Linked DNA regions of Homo sapiens: regions 1, 2 and 3 are each linked to region 4. The links are contacts of gene promoters, found by promoter capture Hi-C in human tissues and cell types (Jung and others, 2019). All regions are on one chromosome and are shown on one strand. The core of a region is centred on a gene start or on the middle of the fragment in contact, and the rest is flanking DNA. Distances in the headings are between cores, read along the strand shown. Region 1 has its middle 220 kb from the start of LINC01195. Region 2 overlaps GRIN2A (glutamate ionotropic receptor NMDA type subunit 2A). Region 3 overlaps GRIN2A (glutamate ionotropic receptor NMDA type subunit 2A). Region 4 holds the start of GRIN2A (glutamate ionotropic receptor NMDA type subunit 2A).

Region 1 (2,932 bases), core at 371-2,870, 510 kb after region 4:
CTCTGACTGACTCCTTCCCAGATCTTCTCGGCTTAGCAGCAGAAGACTGACACCGCCCAATCGCCTCAGAAGCCAACAGAACCATCACAGATGCTCTGGATAACTCTCACAGTGGAGGGTAAGTCCGTCCCCTTCTTAATCAATACGGAGGCTACCCACTCCACATTACCTTCTTTTCAAGGGCCTGTTTCCCTTGCCTCCATAACTGCTGTGGGTATTGACGGCCAGGCTTCTAAACCTCTTAAAACTCCCCAACTCTGGTGCCAATTTAGACATTACTCTTTTAAGCACTCCCTTTTAGTTATCCCCACCTGCCCAGTTCCCTTATTAGGCTGAGACACTTTAACTAAATTATCTGCTTCCCTGACTATTCTAGGCTACAGCTGCACCTCACTGCCACCTTTTCCCCCAGTTCAAAGCCTCCTTCACATCCTCCCCTTATATCTCCCCACCTTAACTCACAAGTATAAGACAAGTATAAGACTCACAAGTATAAGACTACTACTACTCCCTCCTTAGTGACCGATCATGCACCCCTTACCATCCCATTAAAACCTAATCACCCTTACCCCGCGCAATGCCAAGATCCCATCCCACAGCATGCTTTAAAAGGATTAAAGCCTGTTATCACTCGCCTGCTACAGCATAGGCTTCTAAAACCTATAAACTCTCCTTACAATTCCCCCATTTCACCCGTCCTAAAACCAGACAAGCCTTACAGGTTAGTTCAGGATCTGTGCCTTATCAGTCAAATTGTTTTGCCTATCCACCCTGTGGTGCCAAACCCGTATACTCTCCTATCCTCACTACCTGCCTCTACAACCCATTATTCTGTTCTGGATCTCAAACATGCTTTCTTTACTATTCCTTTGCACCCTTAATCCCAGCCTCTCTTCACTTTCACTTGGACTGACCCTGACACCCATCAAGCTCAGCAAATTACCTGGGCTGTACTGCCGCAAAGCTTCACAGACAGCCCCCATTACCTCAGTCAAGCCCAAATTTCTTCCTCATCTGTTACCTATCTCGGCATAATTCTCATAAAAACACACGTGCTCTCCCTGCCAATCGTGTCCGACTGATCTCTCAAACCCCAGCACCTTCTACAAAACAACAACTCCTTTCCTTCCTAGGCATGGTTAGCGTGGTCAGAATTCTTACACAAGAGCCAGGACCACACCCTGTAGCCTTTCTGTCCAAACAACTTGACCTTACTGTTTTAGCCTAGTCCTCATGTCTGCGTGCAGTGGCTGCCGCTGCTTTAATACTTTTAGAGGCCCTCAAAATCACAAACTATACTCAACTCACTCTCTACAGTTCTCATAACTTCCAAAATCTATTTTCTTACTCATACCTGACGCATATGCTTTCTGCTTCCCGGCTCCTTCAGCTGTATTCACTCTTTGTTGAGTCTCCCACAATTACCATTGTTCCTGGCCCGGACTTCAATCCGGCCTCCCACATTATTCCGGATACCACACCTGACCCTCATGACTGCATCTCTCTGATCCACCTGATGTTCACCCCATTTCCCCACATTTCCTTCTTCCCTGTTTCTCACCCTGATCACACTTGGTTTATTGATGGCAGTTCCACCAGGCCTAATCGCCACTCACCAGCAAAGGCAGGCTATGCTATAGTATCTTCCACATCTATCATTGAGGCTACCACTCTGCCCCCCTCCACTACCTCTCAGCAAGCCGAACTAGTTGCCTTAACTCAAGCTCTCACTCTTGCAAAGGACTACGCGTCAATATCTATACTGATTCTAAATATGCCTTTCATATTCTGCACCACCATGCGGTCATATGGGCTGAAAGAGGTTTTCTCACTACACAAGGGTCCTCCATCATTAATGCCTCTTTAATAAAAACTCTACTCAAGGCCGCTTTACTTCCAAAGGAAGCTGGGGTCATTCACTGCAAGGGGCATCAAAAGGCATCAGATCCCATTGCTCTAGGCAACGCTTATGCTGATAAGGTGGCTAGACAAGCAGCTAGCTCTCCAACTTCTGTCCCTCACGGCCAGTTTTTCTCCTTCACATTGGTCACTCCCACCTACTCCCCTGCTGAAACTTCCACCTATCAATCTCTTCCCACACAAGGCAAATAGTTCTTAGACCAAGGAATATATCTCCTGCCAGCCTCACAGGTCCATTCTATTCTGTTGTCATTTCATAACTTCTTCCATGTAGGTTACAAGCTGCTAGCCCGTCTCTTAGAACGTCTCATTTCCTTTCCATCATGGAAATCTATCCTCAAGGAGATCACTTCTCAGTGTTCCATCTGCTATTCTACTACCCCTCATGGATTGTTTAGGCCTCCTCCCTTTCCTACACATCAAGCTCGGGGATTTGTCCCTACCCAGGACTGGCAAATTGACTTTACTCACATGTCTCCAGTCAGAAAACTAAAATATCTCTTAGTCTGGGTAGACACTTTCACTGGATGGATAGAGGCCTTTCCTACAGGGTCTGAGAAGGCCACCGCAGTCATTTCTTCCCTTCTGTCAGACATAATTCCTCAGTTTAGCCTTCCCACCTCTATACAGTCTGATAACGGACCAGCCTTTATTAGTCAAATCAGCCAAGCAGCTTTTCAGGCTCTTAGTATTCAGTGAAACCTTTATATCCCTTACAGTCCTCAGTCTTCAGGAAAGGTAGAACACACTAATGGTCTTTTAAAAACACAACTCACCAAGCTCAGCCACCAACTTAAAAAGGACTGGACAATACTTTTACCACTTTCGCTTCTCAGAATTCAGGCCTGTCCTCAGAATGCTACAAGGTACAGCCCATTTAAGCTCCTGTATAGACGCTCCCTTTTATTAGGCCCCAGTCTCATTCCAGACGCCAGACCAACTTAGACTGTGCCCCAAAAAACTTGTCATCCCTACCATCTTCTGTCTAGTCATAGTACTATTCACCGTTCTC
Region 2 (2,733 bases), core at 44-2,543, 270 kb after region 4:
ATACAATACAGTATTTTAAGAGAGAGACCACATTTATATATCATTTATTCTAGCATATTGTTATAATTGTTCTATTTTATTAATAATTGTTGTTAATCTCCTACAGTGCCTAATTCATGAACTTTATCATAGGTATGTATGTCTGTGTAAGAAGAAACATGATACATACACAGTTCTGTACTATCTGCAGTTTCAGGCATCCACTGGGGATCTTGGAACATATTCCCTGTGGATAGGGAGATACTGCAGTACATCCACAGGCTTTGGAATCAAATTTCAGCTTTTTCTGCCACTTATTAGCTGTGAGACTTTGAGCAAGCAACTAAATATATCTGAGCTTCATTTTTGTCATCAGTAAAATAGAAATAATGCTGGTCCCCACTCACAGTGGGGGAGTTTGTGAGAATTAAATAAAGCATGTAAAACATTTAGCTCAGTACCTGGCCCACAGTAAGTGATCTATGAATGCTGGCTCTTATATAATAATATAATTCTCGGAATAACCAAGGAAAATAGAACAAAAAATGCCACCTAGATGGCAGGATTGCTTTGCATAGCTTAATTAAGTATGTTTCATTATTCCAACTCCCTGGGGCTTTTGAGAATAAAATTTTTAAAAATGTACAACGACAGTCTCATTAAGAGAGTGCAGAAGGAGCAATCTCTAGGCGGGGAGTGAGAGGGAGGACGTGTTGAAATTGTGGAGCAGAACGCACGAGTACTGGTGTAAACTTGGTCCTTAAACAGTAAATACACACATCCAACCACACAACCATGTCTTTCCAAAGGAAGTTTTTAAAAAGTTAGAAGAACTTGGGTCCTGTATAAGAGTGAGATGTTAACATATTTTATTTGACTGAAGAGTCTAGCTATTATAAGATCTTTATTTCAAAAAAGTTAAAGTGCAAAAGATGTGCATTTTGGAACCGATGCAGTAGAACAGTGGTGCATTCCATGTCCAGTTTTCCAAGTAGCTGTGAGGTAGGCGATATTATCCTCCTTTGAGATGTAAGAACATTGAGGCTTAGGAAAGTCAAGTGCCTTTTTCAAGGTCACATTGTTAGTGGACAGCAGTCACAATTGCATTCATCCATTCATCTGAAGAATTTACCTAGTGTTCAGTGCCAAACCCCACAGGGGATACACCAGTGAAAACAACAGAGCATGACCCCTGGGGTTATAATCTCATAGGGAATTTAAACAAAAATGAGTAAGGAATCAAATACATAAAATAATTGCACTATATTATGGCTCCTGTGAAGGGCAGATATGGGGTACTGAGATGGAAAACGTGAAGGATGGAAGGAACACACCTCTTGCCTCTTTGCAGAAGTGATGTTTCTACTGAAAGCTGAAGGGTGAAGAATCAGATATGAAAAGAGCCGGAGAAAAGTCATTCCAGCCAAAGGGAGCAGAGTGCGCAAAGTCCCTGAGATGGGAAATATTTTAGTGTTTATAAGGTAATAAAAACACTTATTCTCATGGTAGACTCAGTTTCGGGTCTTTCTCACTTCAGAGTGTCTGCTATGAACCACTAGGCAACGCTACCTCTGCAAAAGGGAAAGTTGGGTGTTTGAAGGCCAAGAGACACCATGGAGCAGTAGCTGCCAAAAGGATGCTCATCACTTCCTCACATCACTTACTTAACTCCCCAGAAGAAAATTCCTTTCATATGTTAAATGACCAACTCCATCTCTGCCTTGTAAAAGCTGGAGGAGATATTTGAAGGGCTTCTGTTAATATATGGGATGTGGGTGGCGGGGAGGAACTGGTGGAAAAGAGGTCATGCCTTGAAAGGTTGGAAAAGGGAGGATGGTGGAAAAAGAGCTAGGAGTGGACCGTTGACTCCTAGTGAAGAAGGCTGCATCACCAGCCACCTCCGAGGTGGAATACCAGGTGTCTGTTAATCCGCAGCAGGATACTATTAGAAAGCCCATTTCACTTGTCACTGTATCGCTGTGGCTCTGAGAGTTGTGCCTTTTGGTTCCAAATTGTTTTCATTTCAGTACCTTCCTTCCCAATAAGTGGTATTGAAAATGAGGGAAGAATGAGAAGACCTCGATTTATACGTGCCGGCAGATTCAGGGTGTATGAAAAGCTCCTACTCACAATTTCTGGTTCTCTTGAGAAGTTGGGTGATGTTTAATGCAACTTTCTCTTCTTTTTTTCCAAGGACTCATGTCATGAAGCTTTTGACTGTTGGGAGGATCTGTGGGGTCATGGGATCATTTTGCTTTATTACCCTCCTAATTAGACATAATTAATAATTATTACAATAATGTTATATAGTGTTTTAGACTCATATACAAAATCTTGAATCCTCATAACAATTCTTTGAGTTGCATGGGATTATTCCAATTTTACAGATAATGTTCACAGAGGTGACATCATATAACCAAGATTACACAAAGAGATTGACCTAACTCTTATGCCTCCAACTCCAGAAGACAAAGTTGGCAAATAATTGGCAGATGAGAAATTGTTGCAGCACTCTCAATAATCCCAGGAAGGAAGTACAGATGTTGATTAATTAACAACAACCAAAGGTATTATCACATCTACAGTAATTAGCATTTATCAAGTGCCTAGAGTGTGTCTGGCATACTGTGCTAAATTCTATTTATTAATCAATCTAATTCTCACAACAAACCTGTCATGTAGGTGCCATTAGTATCTCCATTTAACAGATGAAAAAACGGAGGCTCAAAGAGGTGAAATAACAACTAGTTTATA
Region 3 (2,700 bases), core at 134-2,633, 430 kb after region 4:
TCTGTAGAGAGGGCACTATATTTTTTTAATCTCAGTTGTAGGGAGGATGACAGAGCCTAAGTAGAATATGGGTGTTGGCGTTCTTGGCCCCTTCTTTAAAAAACAAAACTCTGGGATGAGGGGTATAGAATATATTCTGCTCGCATTTGCTTCTGAAGACAATGCCGATATGGACTTGTGTGTGATTTCCTTAAACACATCAAAGGGCATAGATTTCCTATTTAAATTCCTTATCCTCTTTCCTCACCTGCACTCTTTCTGTGCCCAGCAGTACTTTCAGTATAGTATTAGCTAGAAGTGCCTGCCCAGAAGGGTCTTAGAAAAATAGAGTTCGTAGAACCACACCAAAAGTTAGGAGAAGGGGAGGAGAGATGAGAAAAATGAAGTTTACAAATGGGCAGTTGCCTGTTTAAGATCATCAAGTTAGAGAGTATCAGAGCGAGGATTAGATCCAAGACATGGTTCAATTTCTGGCTCGATTCTCTGACCGGGCTGACTTATTTCTAGGTTTCTTTCAAGGGGAAACTCCTGAGTAGCTCTGGAATAAGAGCCAGAGATCCCCATAAGGCTGCCCTGGTTTTTGTTTTGTTTTGTTTTTTGTTTTTGCCACTTGCCCCAGAAAGACCTACCCATGCTTCTTTGAATTTGGTTTTCCTTTAAACTCCCTCACAATCCCTGTCTTAAAGTTCCTAGAAGAGAAAACTTTTCTCAGAGACCGTCTCCTTAGGAAAAATCAACAGGGATATTGTTTAAAACCTCAAACTGAAGATAAAAGGCTGGCAGTGACCATTGAAATAATTGAGGTCTATGTATCATGCATTGAGGAAGAACCAAGCACATTGACCAGCTAATAGGACTTCACTGAATGTCCACTTTATTTTGAAAGCCAGTTTGGGATTGTGGGGGAGGGGATGCAAAATAAATAGAAAATATAGTCTCTTCCCATAAGTAGCTTATGGTTTAGAAGTTCAGTTCTCTAATACAAAGGATAACCAAGGACCCATGCAATGCAAACAGAGACTAAACAGCAAAAATTAGAAATGACAACTAAAGTTGTAGCCAGGAAAAAAAAAATAATCTGATTCTATGAGCATACCTTTTTTAAAAAAAAAAAAAAAGTCCTTCCCTAAACCTTTAAGTAACTCCGGAGAATAGAGTTAGTGGTCCCGGAAATGCAGTTGATTTATTTTAATCTTCAAATAATGGACTTAGGAGACCCAGGAGCTGCTAACCAGGTGAACACACTCACACTCCTACATTTTTGCACAGGAAGGCTTTTGTCTGGTTCCAACCAGTTCTCCAGTCCTTGCCAAATCATGCCTCCTCCCAGCCTTGCATTATGACATGTGCCTCAAGAAAAGGTTGAAAAAATTCCCCAAAGGATTAGAAAATAGACCATGATGTAAAAAGACGAAGCATTTCCCTAAAGCTTTTTTGTTTGGTTTTGTTTTTGACATTTGAAGAACCCTTCTGATACACCAGGGTATGAATGTATCAGGGAAGCATAGAGGGAAAATTCTTTATCAAGTTCCAAGTGCCTACTGCTGTGGCTGACAGAAAGCATCAGGTTCCCTAGAGAGAAAACGGGGCAAAGAGATGGCAAAAGGAATAGAGGTGTATTTCAGGAAGGATGGCGAGGTGGAGAGGGAGCTTTTGTCACTCTGTCTATCCCATTCTGTGCATTCTTGGAATGTTACATTTTCTGCTTATCGCAAGTACTTGCCATGGATCTGCACCTGAATTTGAAAATATCAAAATATATCTAAATTGAGTGTAGGCGATATTCTAGGCATATCCTAGAATGTGATCCTCAAAACAACCTTAAGATATAAATATGATTGCTCCCATTTTACAGATAAGGAAACTGAGGCTCAGGTTTTTCTCAACCTCGTCAGCAACTAGAATTAGCTAGTAAATCCCTAACGTTAGACATATTTTCAAAGTGCCTGGTCTCCTCCAGGGAGGTCAGAATAGAAGTCAGAAAGAGAGGTGTGCTCTTTTGAGGTTCCTGGGCATATACCCTTGAGTATCAGCCTCTGTGACAGGGAAGTCTGTTAGGGTCTTACCCCTCATTGCCTGATCTGTGTGTATGGAGAACTTCTGGGGATCTCACCTCTGTTCATAGTTCCTTCTGAGACTTGAACACTGTTTGTGTCTCCCTTTCATATGCTTGCACTTAGCATTTAAAAAAATTTCTGGGGAGTTATTTTCTCTACTTAGCATGTGCCTAATCTTAAATATCTCTTTCCTAATGTCTCATCTTTTTATCAGTCAACATCAGGGCTAATTCCATTAAACATATATACATAGTACATGCTCTCATGTGTGTGGGTATGCACACACACACACACAGCCATGTGACCCTCCATTAAAGTCCTCCTAAATATTGTGACCCATGTTCAAAGAGGTGATATTATTTGCAAGTTGACTATTCCTCCTATTTCATGTCTATGTTTGGTTATCTTTGCCAGGCAGATGGAATGAGTTTCAGAGGTGGGACAGGGAATAGGAAATAGAGTTTCTGCATGAATGATGGAGAGCTTTGGTAGTCAGAATGATTGAGGACCAGCTATTAAAATGTTGTTGTTGTTTTCCTTCTTGGTCTGTTCCTTTTTTTTTTTCTTTTCCAAATTGTCTTAGAGATAATTCCCGGCTCACTTAGCATTAGGATAATGACGGTTATTCTGTCCCACTGAAGAG
Region 4 (3,059 bases), core at 142-2,641:
CACACCCGGGCCGTCCCATGTTCTCTGGCTCACCTCTTCTGGTAGCTTAGAAGTGGCAGCCTCAGGGAGGCTTCTGTTTGGTAGAACTTAGAAGGAAGCATGTGGGAAATGCAGATGTCTTTGCTTTTAGGATTCTGGCTCCCTGAGATCAGAGGAGTGGGTTCCCGTACGGGGGTGGCGAGGCACAGGGAGAAGCATTGGAGCAGACTCTGTGTGTGTGTGTGTGTGTGTGTGTGTGTGTGTGTGTGTGTCGGCGCGCCTGTGCGTGGAGGGGGATAACTGTACCCAGCGCGAGGCACTGGGGGAGGAGGAAGCGGTAGCAGAGATCTGAATAATTGATTCTTCAGCCGCACCAGACGCCCGGGAGCGGGCGGAGAGCGTGGTTCCAACACCACGGACAGCAGCGCGCGCCGCCGCAGGCGCCCCCGTCGCCAGCCAGCCACCTATCCTGGCCTTATTTGCCGCCGTGCGCTCTCGGAACGGGTGGCCGCGCTCCGCGTCGCCGCCGAGGGACTGCGGGGTCTGTCTCGACCCACCTAGGAGAGAGGCTGCGGGCAGGAGACGCTTTCGCCCGCCGGAGCTCGAAGCCTCTTGGGCTTGAGCGGGGGCTACTGCGTCTCGCCGGCTGAGAACAAGTCCCTAAGTTGGTGTGGAGGGCGCCGCTACCTTCCTTCTCCTCTTCCTCGGAGGCGACCGCAGCAGAAAGACGCCCCGGGAACCCGGCTTTGCCAGTGCTGTGAACCAGGGTGTCCAGGCGCTCACCGGACTCCCGCTGGGAAGTGGGGAGCCGAACGCCCGGCGCGGAGCTGGCCCAGCAGCGAAGGGCCCGGAGGGAGCTGCCTTTCCCCGCCCGCGCCTCTCTCGGCCGGGGACCGCGGGGATCCCCGGCCACACGCGAGCGCGCTCCCACACTCACACACACACTCGCCCTCAAACACACCAGCCCGGAGCTGGGTTGCGGAGAGGGTGCTCCGGCGCGCTCAGAGGACCGGGCAGTTGCCGTCCGGAGTGGGGCAGGAAGCGGAGCTAGGGATCTTGGAGGGGAGCTCCTAGGGCTTGGCCGGATCATGGGACCGGGTGAGCGCTGAGAATCGCGGCCGCAGCCATCAGCCCTGGAGATGACCAGGAGCGGCCACTGCTGAGAACTATGTGGAGAGAGGCTGCGGTGAGTGCTAGCGCGGGACGCCGGGCCTGGGAGGCCCCCTTGGGAAGGGGGGAGGTGGGAGGCCTGAAGAGGGAGGAAGCGGCAGGATCACAAGAGGGTCGCTGCGTGGGAAAGATCCACCTCCCTCGGGGAACCGGGACCGCGGGAGCCCGCGTCCTTCCCTCCCCCTCTCCTACTGCTGGCTCGTCACAAACTCAGCCAGCGCCCCCCCACCCTCGTTACCTCCTCTTTCTCTCCCTACCTCCCTCGCTCAGCAGCTCCCGGTCGCACAACTCCCAGCAGCCGGCGCTGGGGAGGTGGTAGGGGGTGCGGGTGGAGGTGCCCAGTTAGCTTCTCGTGGGTGGCCAACCTGGGGCTCCCATTCTCCTGTGCACCCTGGAGTGGAGCTCCCGCTATCAGCCACAGGGGCTGAGGATCCGCACTGGGGGCGTCGTGGGCATCGGGCTTCAGCTTCCCCCCTCTTGTCTAGCCCCCCTGGGCGCATAGGGGGGCTTGTGAGCACTGCAGACTGCAGCCTTCCCCTCAACCCTCCCTCCCCTCGTTGGTGGGCTGACCCTGCCTCTCCTTCTCTCCTCCGCCCCGTTAGAGCCCTGCTGCAGAGCCTCCGGCTGGGATAGCCGCCCCCCGTGGGGGCGATGCGGACAGCGCGGGACAGCCAGGGGAGCGCGCTGGGGCCGCAGCATGCGGGAACCCGCTAAACCCGGTGGCTGCTGAGGCGGCCGAGATGCTCGTGCGCGCAGCGCGCCCCACTGCATCCTCGACCTTCTCGGGCTACAGGTACGTCCCAGAGGGAGATCAGGGCTCCTTGGGCCGGGGAGGAGGGAGACTCGACCGGAGGGAGAGCGGGAGAGGGATCAGGCTAGAGAGGGAGAGGGAAAGCGGGAGGGAGCCCAGCGGCGAAGTGCAGGAGGGGCACCAGGGGGCGCTGCGGCTCCGCGCTCCGCGGCGCTTACCCAGGAACGTCGAGGCCTCTTGGAGTTCGCCTCAACTTCCCCCGGCTCCAGCAGCGTCCGTCCCGAGAGGCGCGCGTCAGGGCACGCGTGCACGACCGTGCTGGTATTTGCAGGTACGCAGGGCTGTGCACCTGCCGCAGTTCATGCGTGTGCACCACCTGAGGACATGTGAGGACTCCGGCTGGCCGTGGGCACCGCTACAGCAGTCTGAGGAAGTGCGCAGAAAAGCGCGCGTGCCTATGAGCGTGTGCGGCCCACTGCCCACGTGCACCTAGGACTTGGCAACAGCGCCCGCAGTAGAAAGGCTAGGGAGGGGCTGTACAGTCCACGTCCGTCTGGGAGCTTCTTGGGAGCCTACCTTTCCCCCTACGCACGTTCTTTGCCAGCTCCTACGCGCTGGCCCGCGGGGGGACGCGCCTACTCTCCAGAATTCAGCATTGCACACGGCGCGCGTGAGAGAGGGTGTGTGTGTGTGAACATGTGTGTGTGCGTGTGTGTGTGCACGTGTGTGTGCACGCGCGCGTGTAGGGGTGAAGGACTCTCCACGGCCCCTTGGCTCGAGGTGGGGCGAGCCCCAAGTTCCCCAGGCACAGCGGAGCCTGGGCCCACCAGGCAGCGTCCTCACTCCCAAGCACTTGGGGTGTACTCTGACTGAGAGGAGCCGGGTCTGTAGTTGGGGCTGGGCGTAGAGCAAAGTGTGTGGTGCACACGACGGGCTCGTAGGGGGCGGGGTCAGCCAACTAGCTGAGCTCTCAAGCTGGGACGCGGGGTCTGGGTGCCGCCTCCGCACGCCCTGCGGGGTCTGTAGTTCGCTCCGCGCCAGCAGGGGGCGGGGTTGATAACTTGGTCCTCTCTATCCCAGGTGGGAGGGGTTGGATGGAGGGTTTATTCTGTGCACCTAGGAGCTTGGTGGGGTACAGAACACGCGCGGCGCTTAGGGT

What was found. The method cuts DNA at HindIII sites, captures the fragments that hold promoters and counts their contacts. A contact is called where the count stands out against the background at its distance.
Region 1: a contact is called between a fragment that was not itself captured here and the fragment with the promoter of GRIN2A in region 4, in 1 of the 25 tissues and cell types used here (lymphoblastoid cells).
Region 2: a fragment that was not itself captured here is called in contact with the fragment with the promoter of GRIN2A in region 4 in 1 of the 25 tissues and cell types used here (heart left ventricle).
Region 3: a fragment that was not itself captured here is called in contact with the fragment with the promoter of GRIN2A in region 4 in 1 of the 25 tissues and cell types used here (heart left ventricle).

What each region holds. Positions count from the first base shown.
Region 1 is chr16:9,671,487-9,674,418 of GRCh38, reverse strand. No RefSeq gene overlaps it. Among named protein-coding and RNA genes, the nearest start is that of LINC01195, 220 kb to the right of the region's middle. RefSeq lists an enhancer at 1-471. The HindIII fragment of the contact is 4,732 bases long and covers 1-2,932 here.
Region 2 is chr16:9,915,762-9,918,494 of GRCh38, reverse strand. All of the region lies in intron 3 of GRIN2A (glutamate ionotropic receptor NMDA type subunit 2A), which reads left to right. Among named protein-coding and RNA genes, the nearest start is that of GRIN2A, 270 kb to the left of the region's middle. The HindIII fragment of the contact is 9,405 bases long and covers 1-2,733 here.
Region 3 is chr16:9,755,777-9,758,476 of GRCh38, reverse strand. GRIN2A (glutamate ionotropic receptor NMDA type subunit 2A) reads left to right here. Exons shown (of 13, transcript NM_001134407.3): 13 at 1-2,700. Among named protein-coding and RNA genes, the nearest start is that of LINC01195, 300 kb to the right of the region's middle. The HindIII fragment of the contact is 8,168 bases long and covers 1-2,700 here.
Region 4 is chr16:10,180,760-10,183,818 of GRCh38, reverse strand. GRIN2A (glutamate ionotropic receptor NMDA type subunit 2A) reads left to right here and starts at 1,391. Exons shown (of 13, transcript NM_001134407.3): 1 at 1,391-1,942. RefSeq lists silencers at 2,124-2,183, 2,194-2,303. The HindIII fragment of the contact is 17,773 bases long and covers 1-3,059 here.